Linked DNA regions of Homo sapiens: region 1 is linked to region 2. The links are contacts of gene promoters, found by promoter capture Hi-C in blood cells and fetal thymus (Javierre and others, 2016). All regions are on one chromosome and are shown on one strand. The core of a region is centred on a gene start or on the middle of the fragment in contact, and the rest is flanking DNA. Distances in the headings are between cores, read along the strand shown. Region 1 holds the start of BMF (Bcl2 modifying factor). Region 2 overlaps BUB1B-PAK6 (BUB1B-PAK6 readthrough).

Region 1 (5,440 bases), core at 56-2,555, 160 kb after region 2:
TTTTTTATTTTATTTTATTTTTATTTTTTTGAGACGGAGTCTCATTGTCGCCCAGGCTGGAGTGCGGTGGCGCTATCTCCGCCCACTGCAACCTTCACCTCCTAGGTTCAAGCAATTCTCCTACCTCAGCCTCCCAAGTAGCTGGGATTACAGGCATGCGCCACCACGCCCGCCTGATTTTTGTATTTTTAGTAGAGACAGGGTTTCCCGTGTTGGCCAGGCTGGTCTCCAACCACTGAGCTCAAGTGAACCACCCGCCTCGGCCTCCCAAAGTGTTGGGATTACAGGCGTGAGACATGTGCATCTGGTTTTCCTTATTGAAAAATATTTCCCATTCAATTTAAAAGCTGTCTCCCTGAGGCCTTCTCCAGCCTTTGTATTCTGAATTTTTCTGCATTCCTCAATAGTCATTATCCTTGGAATGAATACAATTCCAATAACTTTTCACTATTTTCAGGGCTACCTCTCCTAGTAGACTGTAAGCTCCTTGAGGGCAGACGCCAGGTTTCTGGCACTCAGCCCAATATCTGGCACAGAGTAGGTGCTCGGTAAATGCCTGTGAAGTAGCCCATAGACTCCCTTACGCGGTCTGCAGGACATGCTGCTCTCCTGGCAGCACCAGCACAGTCTCTAAATGCTGCCATATGCGAGATATGTGTCAACCGCTCAAGCAGCCCCGGCCTTCTTGAGCGCTCCGCTTCTCAGCCAGGTGCTTATTTTGCCAGTGCCCACGCCCAGTCAAGAAGAGGACCTAAGGGCTCCCCTGGATGTGTTTGTTTCAAACACACCTTCAGCTTTGGAGCTGCAGTTTTCTTCCGACCTGCTCGGCAGGCGGGAGGGAGCTTTCCCCTGAGGCTGGGATCCCATAGGGACCCGCACCCTGCACCCTGCACCCACTGGACGCACCAGCCTCATAAAAAAACTCCCCGCCTCCTTCCCCCCTCCCTTTGTGGACGCGCAGCAATTATTCTGCCCATTGCCGTGAAAAAGAAGACAAAAGTTACTTTGGCGCCCCCTCTCCCACACCTAATACAGAGGATTCAGGGACTCTCTGGCGCTTCCAGAGCCTGTGTTAGGGACAGAATCCGCACTGGCGACGGCGCTCCGACTGCGCTTCTGGCGACGGTCGGAATTTTGCTCGGCCCCTTGCAATGTTTCCATGGGAAGGTTCGTACATTCGTGACCGTCCCTGGCAGCGGCCCAGCCCGGGACTTGGCGCTTCACTCGCCATTGGTCAGTCCTCGGCGTGACGCGCAGGGGGGCGGGGCCTCATCAGCTGTTTGCGGGATGCCCCGAGCAGGCGTATTTTGGAAACAATACCGCACCGTGCGGAGTGGCCTCCTCCCGCCCCGGCCTGTGCCCGCCGCCGCCGCCGCCCCTGCCTGCGCCTCCCGCCTCCTGCCGCAGCCCGGTGAGCGCCCGGGTGGCCGCCGGGGGCCGGGCGGAGTTGGATCGCAGCTCCTTGGGGAAGTGGGGAGCGGAGTCGCGCTGCGCACGGGGGCCCGGGAAGGGTTTGGGCTGCGGACGTCTGGGGTGACCATGAAGAACTGGGGCGCTGGGGTGAGGGAACGGGGTGCAGAACCCACAGTTGGGTGCGCTGCTCCAAGAGGGAACTTGGGGGTAGCATTTGGGACTCGAAGGAGTTGGGTCCAGGTAGGCAGGGGAACCTGGGGTGCACTGCTGAGCAGACCTGGGCGCCCGAGAACGGCCCAGCCTCTGGGTCTGACTTTGGGATAGGACAGGAGCTGTGGGGCATCCTGCCTCTCTGCGGAGTCTGAAGGCTCCTCTCCTTAACAGCTGGGCTTTTTCCCTCCTTCCCAATCGAGTCTGGGCGTCCAGCCCCCGAGTGCTCGTCACGCTGGACCCTGGCGCGGAGCCCTGGCATCACGACTCGGAGGCCGAGACTCTCTCCTGGAGTCACCCAGGTCTGGGGTGTGTGTGTGTGTGTGTGTGTGTGTGTGTGTTCCTAGTCACTGTCGAGGATCTGGGTGTCTGACTACTGCCTTCTCCTAAGAGGAGGAGGAGTCTAAGTTCAGCATCCCTCTTCCAGCCCTTAGGGGTTGGGATGGCTGCAGCGGGGCTTGAGTTCCTTTGCTAGGAATAAAGCATTCCCTGGCCCTGTTCTCAGGAAGTGCCCTCCTCCTCCCACCGCTCTGGACATCACCTCTTAAGCTCAGGAGAAAAATTTCACCCTCTCTTAGTTTACCCTTGACCTTGGCCAGCACCCCTCCAGAGGCGCCCACCTACAGGCAAGCCACCTACAGTTTGTGGAGCGTGAGAGGGGTCCCTGGGGCTTGCAGAGCCACACCTTCTGGCTGCACCTCCCCCACTGTCCAGTCCAGGCAAAGGTTGAACTTTGGGGCTTTGCTGGGAGGGGGAGGGGAAGGTGATAGGCTTCAAAGGAAAAACCAAGACAATGACTCGTGCTGGTGATTGGCTTTGAGGGCCCCTTCTTAGGTCAAGATTGCTAGCCTGAGAAGAGGAGGTTGGAGAGCTGGAGGGGAGCCCCTGCCAGGTGACTGGCGGGACAGCACTTGGTCCTTTCATCAGGAAATTTTGTTTCCTGTTGTTAATAAGCTGGAGTGCACCACCTCACCCCCCTCCCCATACACACACACACACACACACACACACACACACACACACACACTTGGGAAACACGGTCCAAAGAACACCACGTGGCTGCTTGCCATCCTAGCAGGCATCTCCTCATTCTCCAGGGAAGAGGGCACAGACAGGACCATAGACAGCTCAGGGACAGGGATGGGATGGGACGAAGGCAGGGCCCAAGCAAGCAGCTCACAGCTTGTGTTTGGCAAAGGCAGCATTCTGAATTGAACTGAGATTCTTTTAGCTACTTCACCAATCCATAGACCATTTGGCTTGTTCTTCAAAGGCAAGAGACTAGGGGACAGAACCCCCAGGAATCTCTAATTGAGTCTGACAAGAATGAAATTCATCTCTTTTTATCCTTAGCTGTTCAGGTGGTTGCTGCTTCTGGCTGCTGCAGGGGCCCTAAGCAGTTCCTGGTATGTGTAGGGAGCTGGGTTGGAAGCTTAAGATGCTGAGTAGCTCCAAGCTCAGACTTTCAAGAGCCATCAGGTGGAGCAAGAGGAACTTCTTTATCACCAAGAAACTCATATCAATAACTTCAGCAGTATAGGCAGTGAGTGAGGTCACAGGGAGAGGGCTGAATTTCACTTCCTTCTGTAAGACCAGTTGTACCAGTCTCAGGTTCAGAGCTGGCAGGAGCGGGAGGCTGTGGAATCAGGGATTTGAAGTCGTGGAGACTAGTGAGGAGACTTAGTTGGGAGAGGCTGGACCTACCCTCTAGGCCAAACTTTGGTGGGCAGACAGCTCAACTCTGCTCAAAGAGAGCCGAGACGGCAGCTGCAATGACTAGCTTGGGTCTTTATCCCCTCTCCCAGGACACATTCTTACCACACTGCAGAGCCTGTTTGTTGTGTTGTGCAAGCAAGGGGTGGAGATTAGAGTAGATGGGCAGCAGGGCGGGGCTTAGAGGTTTGGAGGGAACCTGGCTGTCCTAGGATTGCTGGCTTTTGTTTTTGCTGCTGAGCCTGGAGCTCAGCTCAGACTGAGATAAGAATTTCCTTGGGACAATGACTCTGTATGTGTGTGTGTGTGTGTGTGTGTGTGTGTGTGTGTTGTGAGCACTGTATGTATAGCCAGTCACAGCACCCTTGACAGCAACTTACAGAGGCTAGTCTTGTTTATATTTTCCCAGGTACCCTGCATGCATATAGCTGCTGATTCTACTCCTGCTATTGCTCACAACCCTCAGAGTCAAACTTTGTGACCGGCCTAGGTCAGAAAACGTGATCAAGAAAAAGGGTGGTTCCAGGCGGGCCCAGGGAAGAGGTGTGGAGAGCCCCTGAACATTCAGGCAGTCCACATTTGGGGAGTGAATGTCACCCTTAGCAGTGCTTTATTACCAGGGTTGTATGTCATCAGTATGTGGTCCGGCCAGCTCAAATAAGAAGGGGGAGTATGGTAGGAAGAAGGGAAGGGGAGTCCTTCCAGGTATGGCCCTGGTGGGGCAGCAGCCCAGATGCCTGCGTTGCCCCCTCACAGGAGAGATGGAGCCATCTCAGTGTGTGGAGGAGCTGGAGGATGATGTGTTCCAACCAGAGGATGGGGAGCCGGTGACCCAACCCGGGAGCTTGCTCTCTGCTGACCTGTTTGCCCAGAGCCTACTGGACTGCCCCCTCAGCCGACTTCAGCTCTTCCCTCTCACCCACTGCTGTGGCCCTGGCCTTCGACCCACCAGCCAGGAAGACAAAGCTACCCAGACTCTCAGCCCAGCCTCCCCCAGCCAAGGTGTCATGCTGCCTTGTGGGGTGACTGAGGAACCCCAGCGACTCTTTTATGGTGAGTGCTCTCAGCCTCAAGACTCCTCCCATAGAGACTGGGGGAAAAGAGGGGACTTTCCCTCCCCAAACCTGCCCTTTGCTGTTTCCTTCCCCCAAAGTGATCAGCGGGGCTGTTGATTCCTTGACTTCCACCTGCTGCCTCTCGGCTTGTTATTGCTCCTCACCTGTGCCTCAGACCCCCCAAAGGGCAAATTGTCCCCTCCTGGAGGGATCCTTGGGTCCATGGTATCTCCTTTTACATCTTGTGCCCCTTGAGTGGCCTGGCCTTTAGTGTCCTAGCAGTGACTTGCCTACTATAAAGTGGCTCCTGTTGCCCTGGAGAAGTCTGGGGGATCTGTGACTGGCTGTTGACAATGAAGGGAAAAACCCAGCCGGTTCTGGGAGGGAGGGTTCCCAAAGGCAGAAGGTGGCCCCCAGTTGCCACATGGGACTTTCTGTGTGTGAAAGGGGAACTGGAGAAAGAGGTTGGGCCTGCCTGGGCCCAATGCCAGGAGAGGGGATGCTTCCAAGGCTAAGACAAGACCCCTTCATTTGTGGGCTTAAATAGTTTGTTTTATGAGAAATATGCCCTCCTCTGGCAAAAGGGCAGGGTTAGACAGTCTGTTTTCTTCTATTAGCACTGCAGCTTATGGAGGGAGGGTAAAGGCTAGGAGCGTGGCTTACTGTGTCTGACGAGCTGATTGAGGAGACACTGCAGTTACTCCCAGAGGGAACTGCCCCTTAGGGCAGTTCTGGCAAAGCAGTTCTGGCGGGAGTCTGAGAAGTTGGATAAGGCGGGCAGGCGGGGAAGAGGGAAAGGAGCGAGGAGCCCGGCGGACTGGCGCCCCTAGCGGTGGTTCTAACGCGTGCACTGGGTAAGTGTGGAGCGCTGGTCTAGAGGTCTTGCCTGGGGCTGTCTCCGGAGAGCAACTTGGCAGCTCTGTGCGTCTCAGTTTTCTCTCCCTCTTTTTGTGCTGCTGCCCAGGAGCTTCGGGAGACCAGCCTTACTCTACTGCACTAAAAAAGTGAAGACACTTTTTGATTTTTTCTTGCTCTGCCTCTTACTTTGC
Region 2 (6,261 bases), core at 138-2,637:
GCCTAACTGCTGTTATGGAAGCTGCTGCAAGTGTCCAGAGTCAGCCCCAGTGCCAAGGGCTGCTGGCTTGATCTGGGGACTCCTGGGGTAGGTGGTGGTGGAGGAGGAGGAGGAAGGCTGATGCTCCCCATCTGTTATTGAATTTGCTTAAGGCAGTGGTTCTTAATGGGTGTGCTCGAGTGACATTTGGCAGTGTCTGGAGGCATTTTTGGTTATTCCAACCGAGGGTACCACCAACTTCTAGTGAGTAGAGGCCAGGGAGGCTGCTACAGTGCAAGGAGAGCCCACCACAAAGGATGGACTGACCTGAGCGCCTGCAGTGAGGACGCTGAGAAGCCCCGGCCCGGAGCAGCTCGGGGGGTCTCAGCTTGCCATTGAGAGGCTTGGCTTCAGAGTAGAAATCTTGAAAGATGTGTCTGAGTTGCCCAGAAGGAAACCACTCCCCTGGATTTGGAAGTATGGTGTTGCTGAGCTCGAGATAACTACCGCCTGCTCCCACAAGTATGGGGGACATCCCGGCATACCCAGCAGCAGTGGCCCATGGTGAGTACTCAGTACATTGTGCAGGGATGGACAGGCCTCTCCCCCTGCTGTGGGGTGCTGGCAGGAGCCCAGAAAGATGCAAATGAGTGCCCAGCCCAGTGTTGACAACCCCTTTCTCCAAATCCCTGAGGCCTCGCAGCAGGACTCCTGAGAGACAGAGGGAGGTCAAGCTCCGAATCTCACCTTCCCAGCAGGGTGCACTGTCCTGATCTTACGTTGGTTTTCTGGCTGAGTCTCCCCAGGGGCACAGCCTTCCAGACACCCTGCAGCTCACAGATGCTCGTGTTCCTCTCACAGATACATCAAGCCACAACCCATGGGGATCCCAACCCACTGTCCTTTAACCTAGTAGGGGACTAGAGTGCACAAAGCTCAGAACTTTCTCTTTTTTTTTTGAGACGGAGTCTCGCTCTGTCTGTCCCCCAGGCTGGAGTGCAGTGGTGCGATCTCAGCTCACGGCAAGCTCTGCCTCCCGGGTTCACGCCATTCTCCTGCCTCAGCCTCCTGAGTAGCTTGGACTACAGGCGCCCGCCACCGCGCCCGGCTAATTTTTTTTGTATTTTTAGTAGAGACGGGGTTTCACCGTGTTAGCGAGGATGGTCTCGATCTCCTGACCTCGTGACCCATCCACCTTGGCCTCCCAAAGTGCTGGGACTACAGACGTGAGCCACCACGCGCGGCCGCCCAGAACTTTCTCTGAGTACCTCAGCTGGCAGGCAGTGACCCAGAGAGGTTGTAGTCCGGGTCATCCCCAAACCCACACCCTGTGCAGGCTGGGCCACACTCACCCCACCGATGACAGGGGAGTACCCAGGCTTGTCTTAAAGCCCTCCCAGGAGGGAGGGGAGGCTCCATTACCCATGCCACTGTCAGCAGCCGTTTCTTAGGACTGCCTTTGACCCTCCCAGGAAGGAGCTAAAGAACAAGTGGCTGCTGTGCTTGTAAAGCCTTCATACGCAAGAGTCATGAGCCAAGAGGGCCCGGGCCGGACAGGCAGCCCCAGAGCACTCCCCACCTTCCTTCTCTGACTCACTCTCCATCATGCCTGGGGGTGACTCACCCTCTCTCTATCAGTCTCCTCCTCTGCCAAATGGGAAAAGAGGTTACTGTCACTATCAACAGGATGCTGGAGGGCCTGGAAGAAGCAAAAAGGTGCGCTCCACTCTGCCTGCCAAGAAATGTCACCACGGGGGCTCCCTTCACCCTTTCCTTTCTCACAAGAAAAATGTGCGTCTGAAGCAGTCACACATGCCACAAGTCGGCCTCCTGCTGCCCCTGGACTAGGCAAATCCAGCTTTTCCTATGGCCACACACTTGGGAACAAATACTGACAGAAATGGGAAACAACACAACAGCCACAGAGAAAAGAAGGAAAGGAAGGGAGGGAAGGAGGAGGCGAGCCACCCTCCTTAGAGAAGAGGTTACCGTGCACATTTCTGCCGCCTTAGGCGGAAGCAGTCCAGGGAGCCTCTTTGCCAGTCCTCCAAGGGGAAGGCTAGGCAAGGCCTGTGTCCCTACACCCACTCCCCAGTGGACACCTGCAGGCCAGGCTCCTGACTTACCTTGCTCTGTGGTGGAGGGCCTGGCTTGCTGCTGCTTGGAGGGGCTGTGGCAGCAGTGGACAGGAACATGCTTCGGAATAGCCTGCGCTTCAGGCTGCTCTCCCGGGTCTTAGGGCTAGGGCTGCCTTCCCCACCTGGCCTGCCTGTGGCTGAGCCCACCAGGCAGGACTGTGGCCGGGCCTCCTCAGAGCCATGCTTGGCAGCCTTCATTCCATGCCTATTGGTGCCCGTGGGGGGCGAGGCTCCTGGTGGGGAGCTCTGCAGGCAGGCACCCAGCTGCAGACAGCGCTGCGAGGCACCCTGAAACTCGGCGGGGCCCAGGGACTGTGCCTTTGCAGCCAGCCCATTGGGCAGGACCCGTGGGCTCTGTGGCTCGGGCCACGGCATCTGCTTGTGGCCTGCTGGTGTGCCCCCGTTGCAGCTGAGGTAGAGGCCGTGGGGGTCAGTGCGCTCAGACTGGGGGCTCTGGAGGTACATGTCTGGGTCGGTGGCCCAGTGCTCATCCCCCAGCAGCCCCAGGGACTGTGCCCGCCGCCGGCTGGTGGGGCTGCGGCCACGCAGGGTGTTGGAGCTGATGACTGACAACTTCTGGATGTCGTTGAGCAGCCCCGAGATGTAGCCATCCACAGGCATCGCGCTGCCCCGCACCACTGTCTGTAGGGGGAAGAGAAAAGAGTGTGTGGGAGCTGCCCAATTGTGGCAGGGAGGGGTGGCTGGGAGATCAGGGTCAGAGAATGTCCCTGGGGGCCCTGGGGAGGACCACCTAAGGACCTTCCCTGCTGTGTCATCCACCCATTAATTTTTCCATAATTTATCAGGGCCCACCGTGGGTCCCGCCTGTGCTGGATGCAGGGATGCGGGGAGAAGGCCCAGCGTCAGCAGAGCAGATGGTGAGTGCCATGGGGCTGCATCCAGCATGCCCAGGGGTGTGGTCGGCTGGGCCAGGGAGCTGGAGCTCAGGGGGCGGGGCTCCATTCTCTAGCTCCACGGGTGGCTGGGAGAGATGTGCCCAGCCCTCTGAGGAAGAGACACCAGGCCGGGGGCTCCTCCACACACACTGGCTTCGCAGCCTCCAAACCCTGATAGGGCCCCTGACCCCACCTTCTACCAGGCTCTTGGGTCTACTAGTCGTGACCCTCACAACTAAAATTCTCCTGGTCTGGGAGAGCCCTCAGTCCCTATGGGGCTGCAGGTCCAAATATTGAATGGGACACGTCCTAAAAGACTATTCGTTGTCATCTGAAATACAAATGCAATTGAGCATCTCACATTTTCATGTGCTGAATCTGGCAACCCCACCACCCTGCAGAGAGGGTCTCCCCAGCCTCCTTCGCCCTGGCTTACCCAGGGAGAGAATGGCAGGCTGACAGGCAGGGAGTTAAAACAGCTGATTAACTGATAGCTGTGAAGTAGGTGGTTCCTCCAGGGGCCTTTCTGAGGTTTAGCCAGGCATGGTTGTCTGAGTACTGGGAGAGGCTGAACCTCATCCCTGCCGGCCCCTCTTACCTTCATGGGCTGGAGCTGCACCCGTGTGATTCGCGAAGGGTCCACCACGGGCTTGGGGCGCCGCAGTGTGTCCAGGATGTTCTGCCATTGTGGGGGGAGGCCCACAAACTTGCCTTCTTTGGGGTCGAAGGAGGTGTGGACACGGTGCTGGAAGTTCTGTGGCGCTGAGATCTCAGGGCGTTTCTTCTTTTTCTTGCGGAACATGGTGCCTGTAAGTGCAGAGTAAGGTTGAGCTCCCTCCCGGGAAAGAGGGGTGGCTGCAGCAGGGCCTGGGGCACCAGGTTCAGGGCTCCCTCCCCTCCCCCAGCACAGCTCCCCTAGAAGCCTAGGGCTTCCCTCCACCTCCATCTCTGCTTCCTCAGGGAAATGGCTGGCTCCCAGCAGAACAGTCCCAGAAACAACAAACGTGCCATAAATAAGCCAGTGCAGACTATAAACAAGGAAAAGAGGTGTCTTCTTGCCTGTGCCAAGTCCCCTATGGAGCAGGCAGACTCTGGGGGTGTGTTTTTATAAAATCCAAAGCCCATTACAAGTATCATTCCACTGTCTGTCAACGAATTTTAAAAATGGGGAAAGAGGGAGGAAAGTTAGCAAGCTTGTTTTATGAAACGAGTATGACCTTGATTCTTAAAACCAGATAAGGAGAGTGCAAGAAAAGGAAAATTTGACTCAATATCATTTAGGAACGTAACTATGAAAATCTTAAAACTATCGAATTGAATCCAACAGTATATTAAAGTTATTTTTTTGTTGGCTTTTTTTTTTTATTACAACTCAGCTTTGTCCCAGGATGGTTGAACCTGTTAATATGATACGTTAATAAAAAGCCAACCAGCTGATCACAGACATGCTGCCCGGTGTGGGACTATTATGTATCAGGGAGCCCCCAAAGGGCCTTCATGGTTACCATGTGCTTTACCTCAATTCCAGAAAGGCCCTGAGCCAAGAGGATAGCCTGGGGTGGGTGAGGGGCAGCTAACTTAGGGGTAAAGCTCTCCAGAGAAGGCAGAGAGCACCACCTCCCCTTGACACTCTTCTCTCTGGTATTGGAGCTCTATGTAAAACATCACCTGGGCCGGGCATGGTGGTTCATGCCTGTAATCCTAGTACTCTGGGAGGCCGAGGCGGGTGGATCACCTGAGGTCAGGAGTTTGAGACCAGCTTGGCCAACATGGTGAAAACCTGTCTTGACTAAAAATACAAAGAAATTAGCCGGGCCTGGTGGCACGTGCCTGTAGTCCCGGATACCCATGGGGTTGAGGGAGGAGAATCGCTTGAACCCAGGAGGCTGAGGCTGCAGTGAGCTGAGATTGCCCCACTGCACTCCAGCCTGGGCAACAGAATGAGACTCTGTCTCAAAAAACAAACAATAAAACACTTAACCTGCAATCAAGCCTGTGTCCCGTGCCTTGCTGATTCTGGCTTTGCCTAAGGTCGTGCTGAGCTGCATACACAGAAGTGACACAGGCTTGCAATGGATAGCATGGGTAGATCTGAGAGTGGGGAACTGGGGGCCTGGGAAGGGGAGGGACACTTCCAAAGGGTTGCTCTAGTTTCGCCTTCAGGGGATCCCGGACCTGGGATCACATGTTGATGGCAGACAGGGCCAGGGCTGCCTCTTGAATGCTTTTGGATCTGAAGAGGCTCAGAACAGCTCACTGGGTTCTTATGTATCTGAAAAGGTCACTTCCAGGCTTCAAGAAACTGAAACATGATTCTTGAACTGAAAGCTTGGATTACTCATCCGCCCGAAGATCTGGAGTGCAGGGCCGTCATGTTCTCTTTTGGCTCTTGCTATGGAAACAGCATTTTCCTAGTCATTTTGGCAGGTTCTGAAGGAGGTCGCAGATCTGGGAGGCAGCTGGCAGAAAGGCAGGGACCCTGGACAGCCAGTGGTTCCCCACTAGGAATTCACCATGCGTGACTCAATCAGAGCCCACGTCACATCTCAATGTCAGCCATGCTTCTGGGTCTTGAGGTTCGGGATCCACCGAACACCCCCTAGAGGTAGAGCCACATGTACAGGACCCTTACAGACCAAGCCCTTTGGAATAAAACAACCTGTGTGAGTTGCAGATGAGTTGTAGGGAGTCTCCCACTAATAATTTGGAGAGATTTTGAACAAATAACTGAAATGATCTGAGCCAGGGGGGTTAATGAAAGACAGCTCATAGGGTTTAGGGTGTGTGAAGTAAGCAGAGTCCCCATACATGACGGTTGTTTCTCTTGTGATGTCACCTCTCTTTGAATCCCTGTCTTGAAGCTCAGGCCCTCCAGACACTGGCACTTGGGCAGATACAAGTCTGGGAGTAACACCAAACCACTTTCTGCTCAGACTTACCAGTCAAAGGGGTCATGCCTGATGTCAGGGGTCTGGGACCTGGGGACCTCGCCATATATACATCATGGTTTGGTAAAATTTGTCCTCCTCCTTTTGGCCTTTGCCTTTTTTGTTGTTGTTTGTTGTTGTTGTTGTTGTTTTTGAGAAGGAGTCTTGCCGCCCTGTCGCCCAGACTGGAGTGTAGTGGCACCATCTGGGCTCACTGCAACCTCCACCTCCCGGGTTCAAGTGATTCTCTTGCCTCAGCCTCCTGAATAGCTGAGATTACAGGCACCCACCAACATACCCGGCTAATTTTTGTATTTTTAG

What was found. Contacts are between HindIII fragments. The CHiCAGO score rates a contact against its expected background, and 5 or more counts as called.
Region 1: the fragment with the promoter of BMF here is called in contact with a fragment that was not itself captured in region 2 in 5 of 17 cell types (naive B cells, endothelial precursors, total B cells and 2 more); the score reaches 8.2 in naive B cells.

The regions. Positions count from the first base shown.
Region 1 is chr15:40,104,744-40,110,183 of GRCh38, reverse strand. BMF (Bcl2 modifying factor) reads left to right here and starts at 1,305. Exons shown (of 5, transcript NM_001003940.2): 1 at 1,305-1,411; 2 at 1,798-1,925; 3 at 4,093-4,389. The coding sequence starts at 4,098. RefSeq lists silencers at 1,248-1,497, 2,982-3,276, 5,092-5,284 and enhancers at 2,007-2,702, 4,273-4,322, 4,543-4,592. The HindIII fragment of the contact is 6,207 bases long and covers 1-3,057 here.
Region 2 is chr15:40,262,340-40,268,600 of GRCh38, reverse strand. BUB1B-PAK6 (BUB1B-PAK6 readthrough) reads right to left here. Exons shown (of 10, transcript NM_001128629.3): 3 at 3,612-3,820; 4 at 2,106-2,759. The coding sequence starts at 3,815. PAK6 (p21 (RAC1) activated kinase 6) reads right to left here. Exons shown (of 11, transcript NM_001395430.1): 4 at 3,612-3,820; 5 at 2,106-2,759. The coding sequence starts at 3,815. Among named protein-coding and RNA genes, the nearest start is that of PAK6-AS1, 13 kb to the right of the region's middle. The HindIII fragment of the contact is 5,642 bases long and covers 1-4,208 here.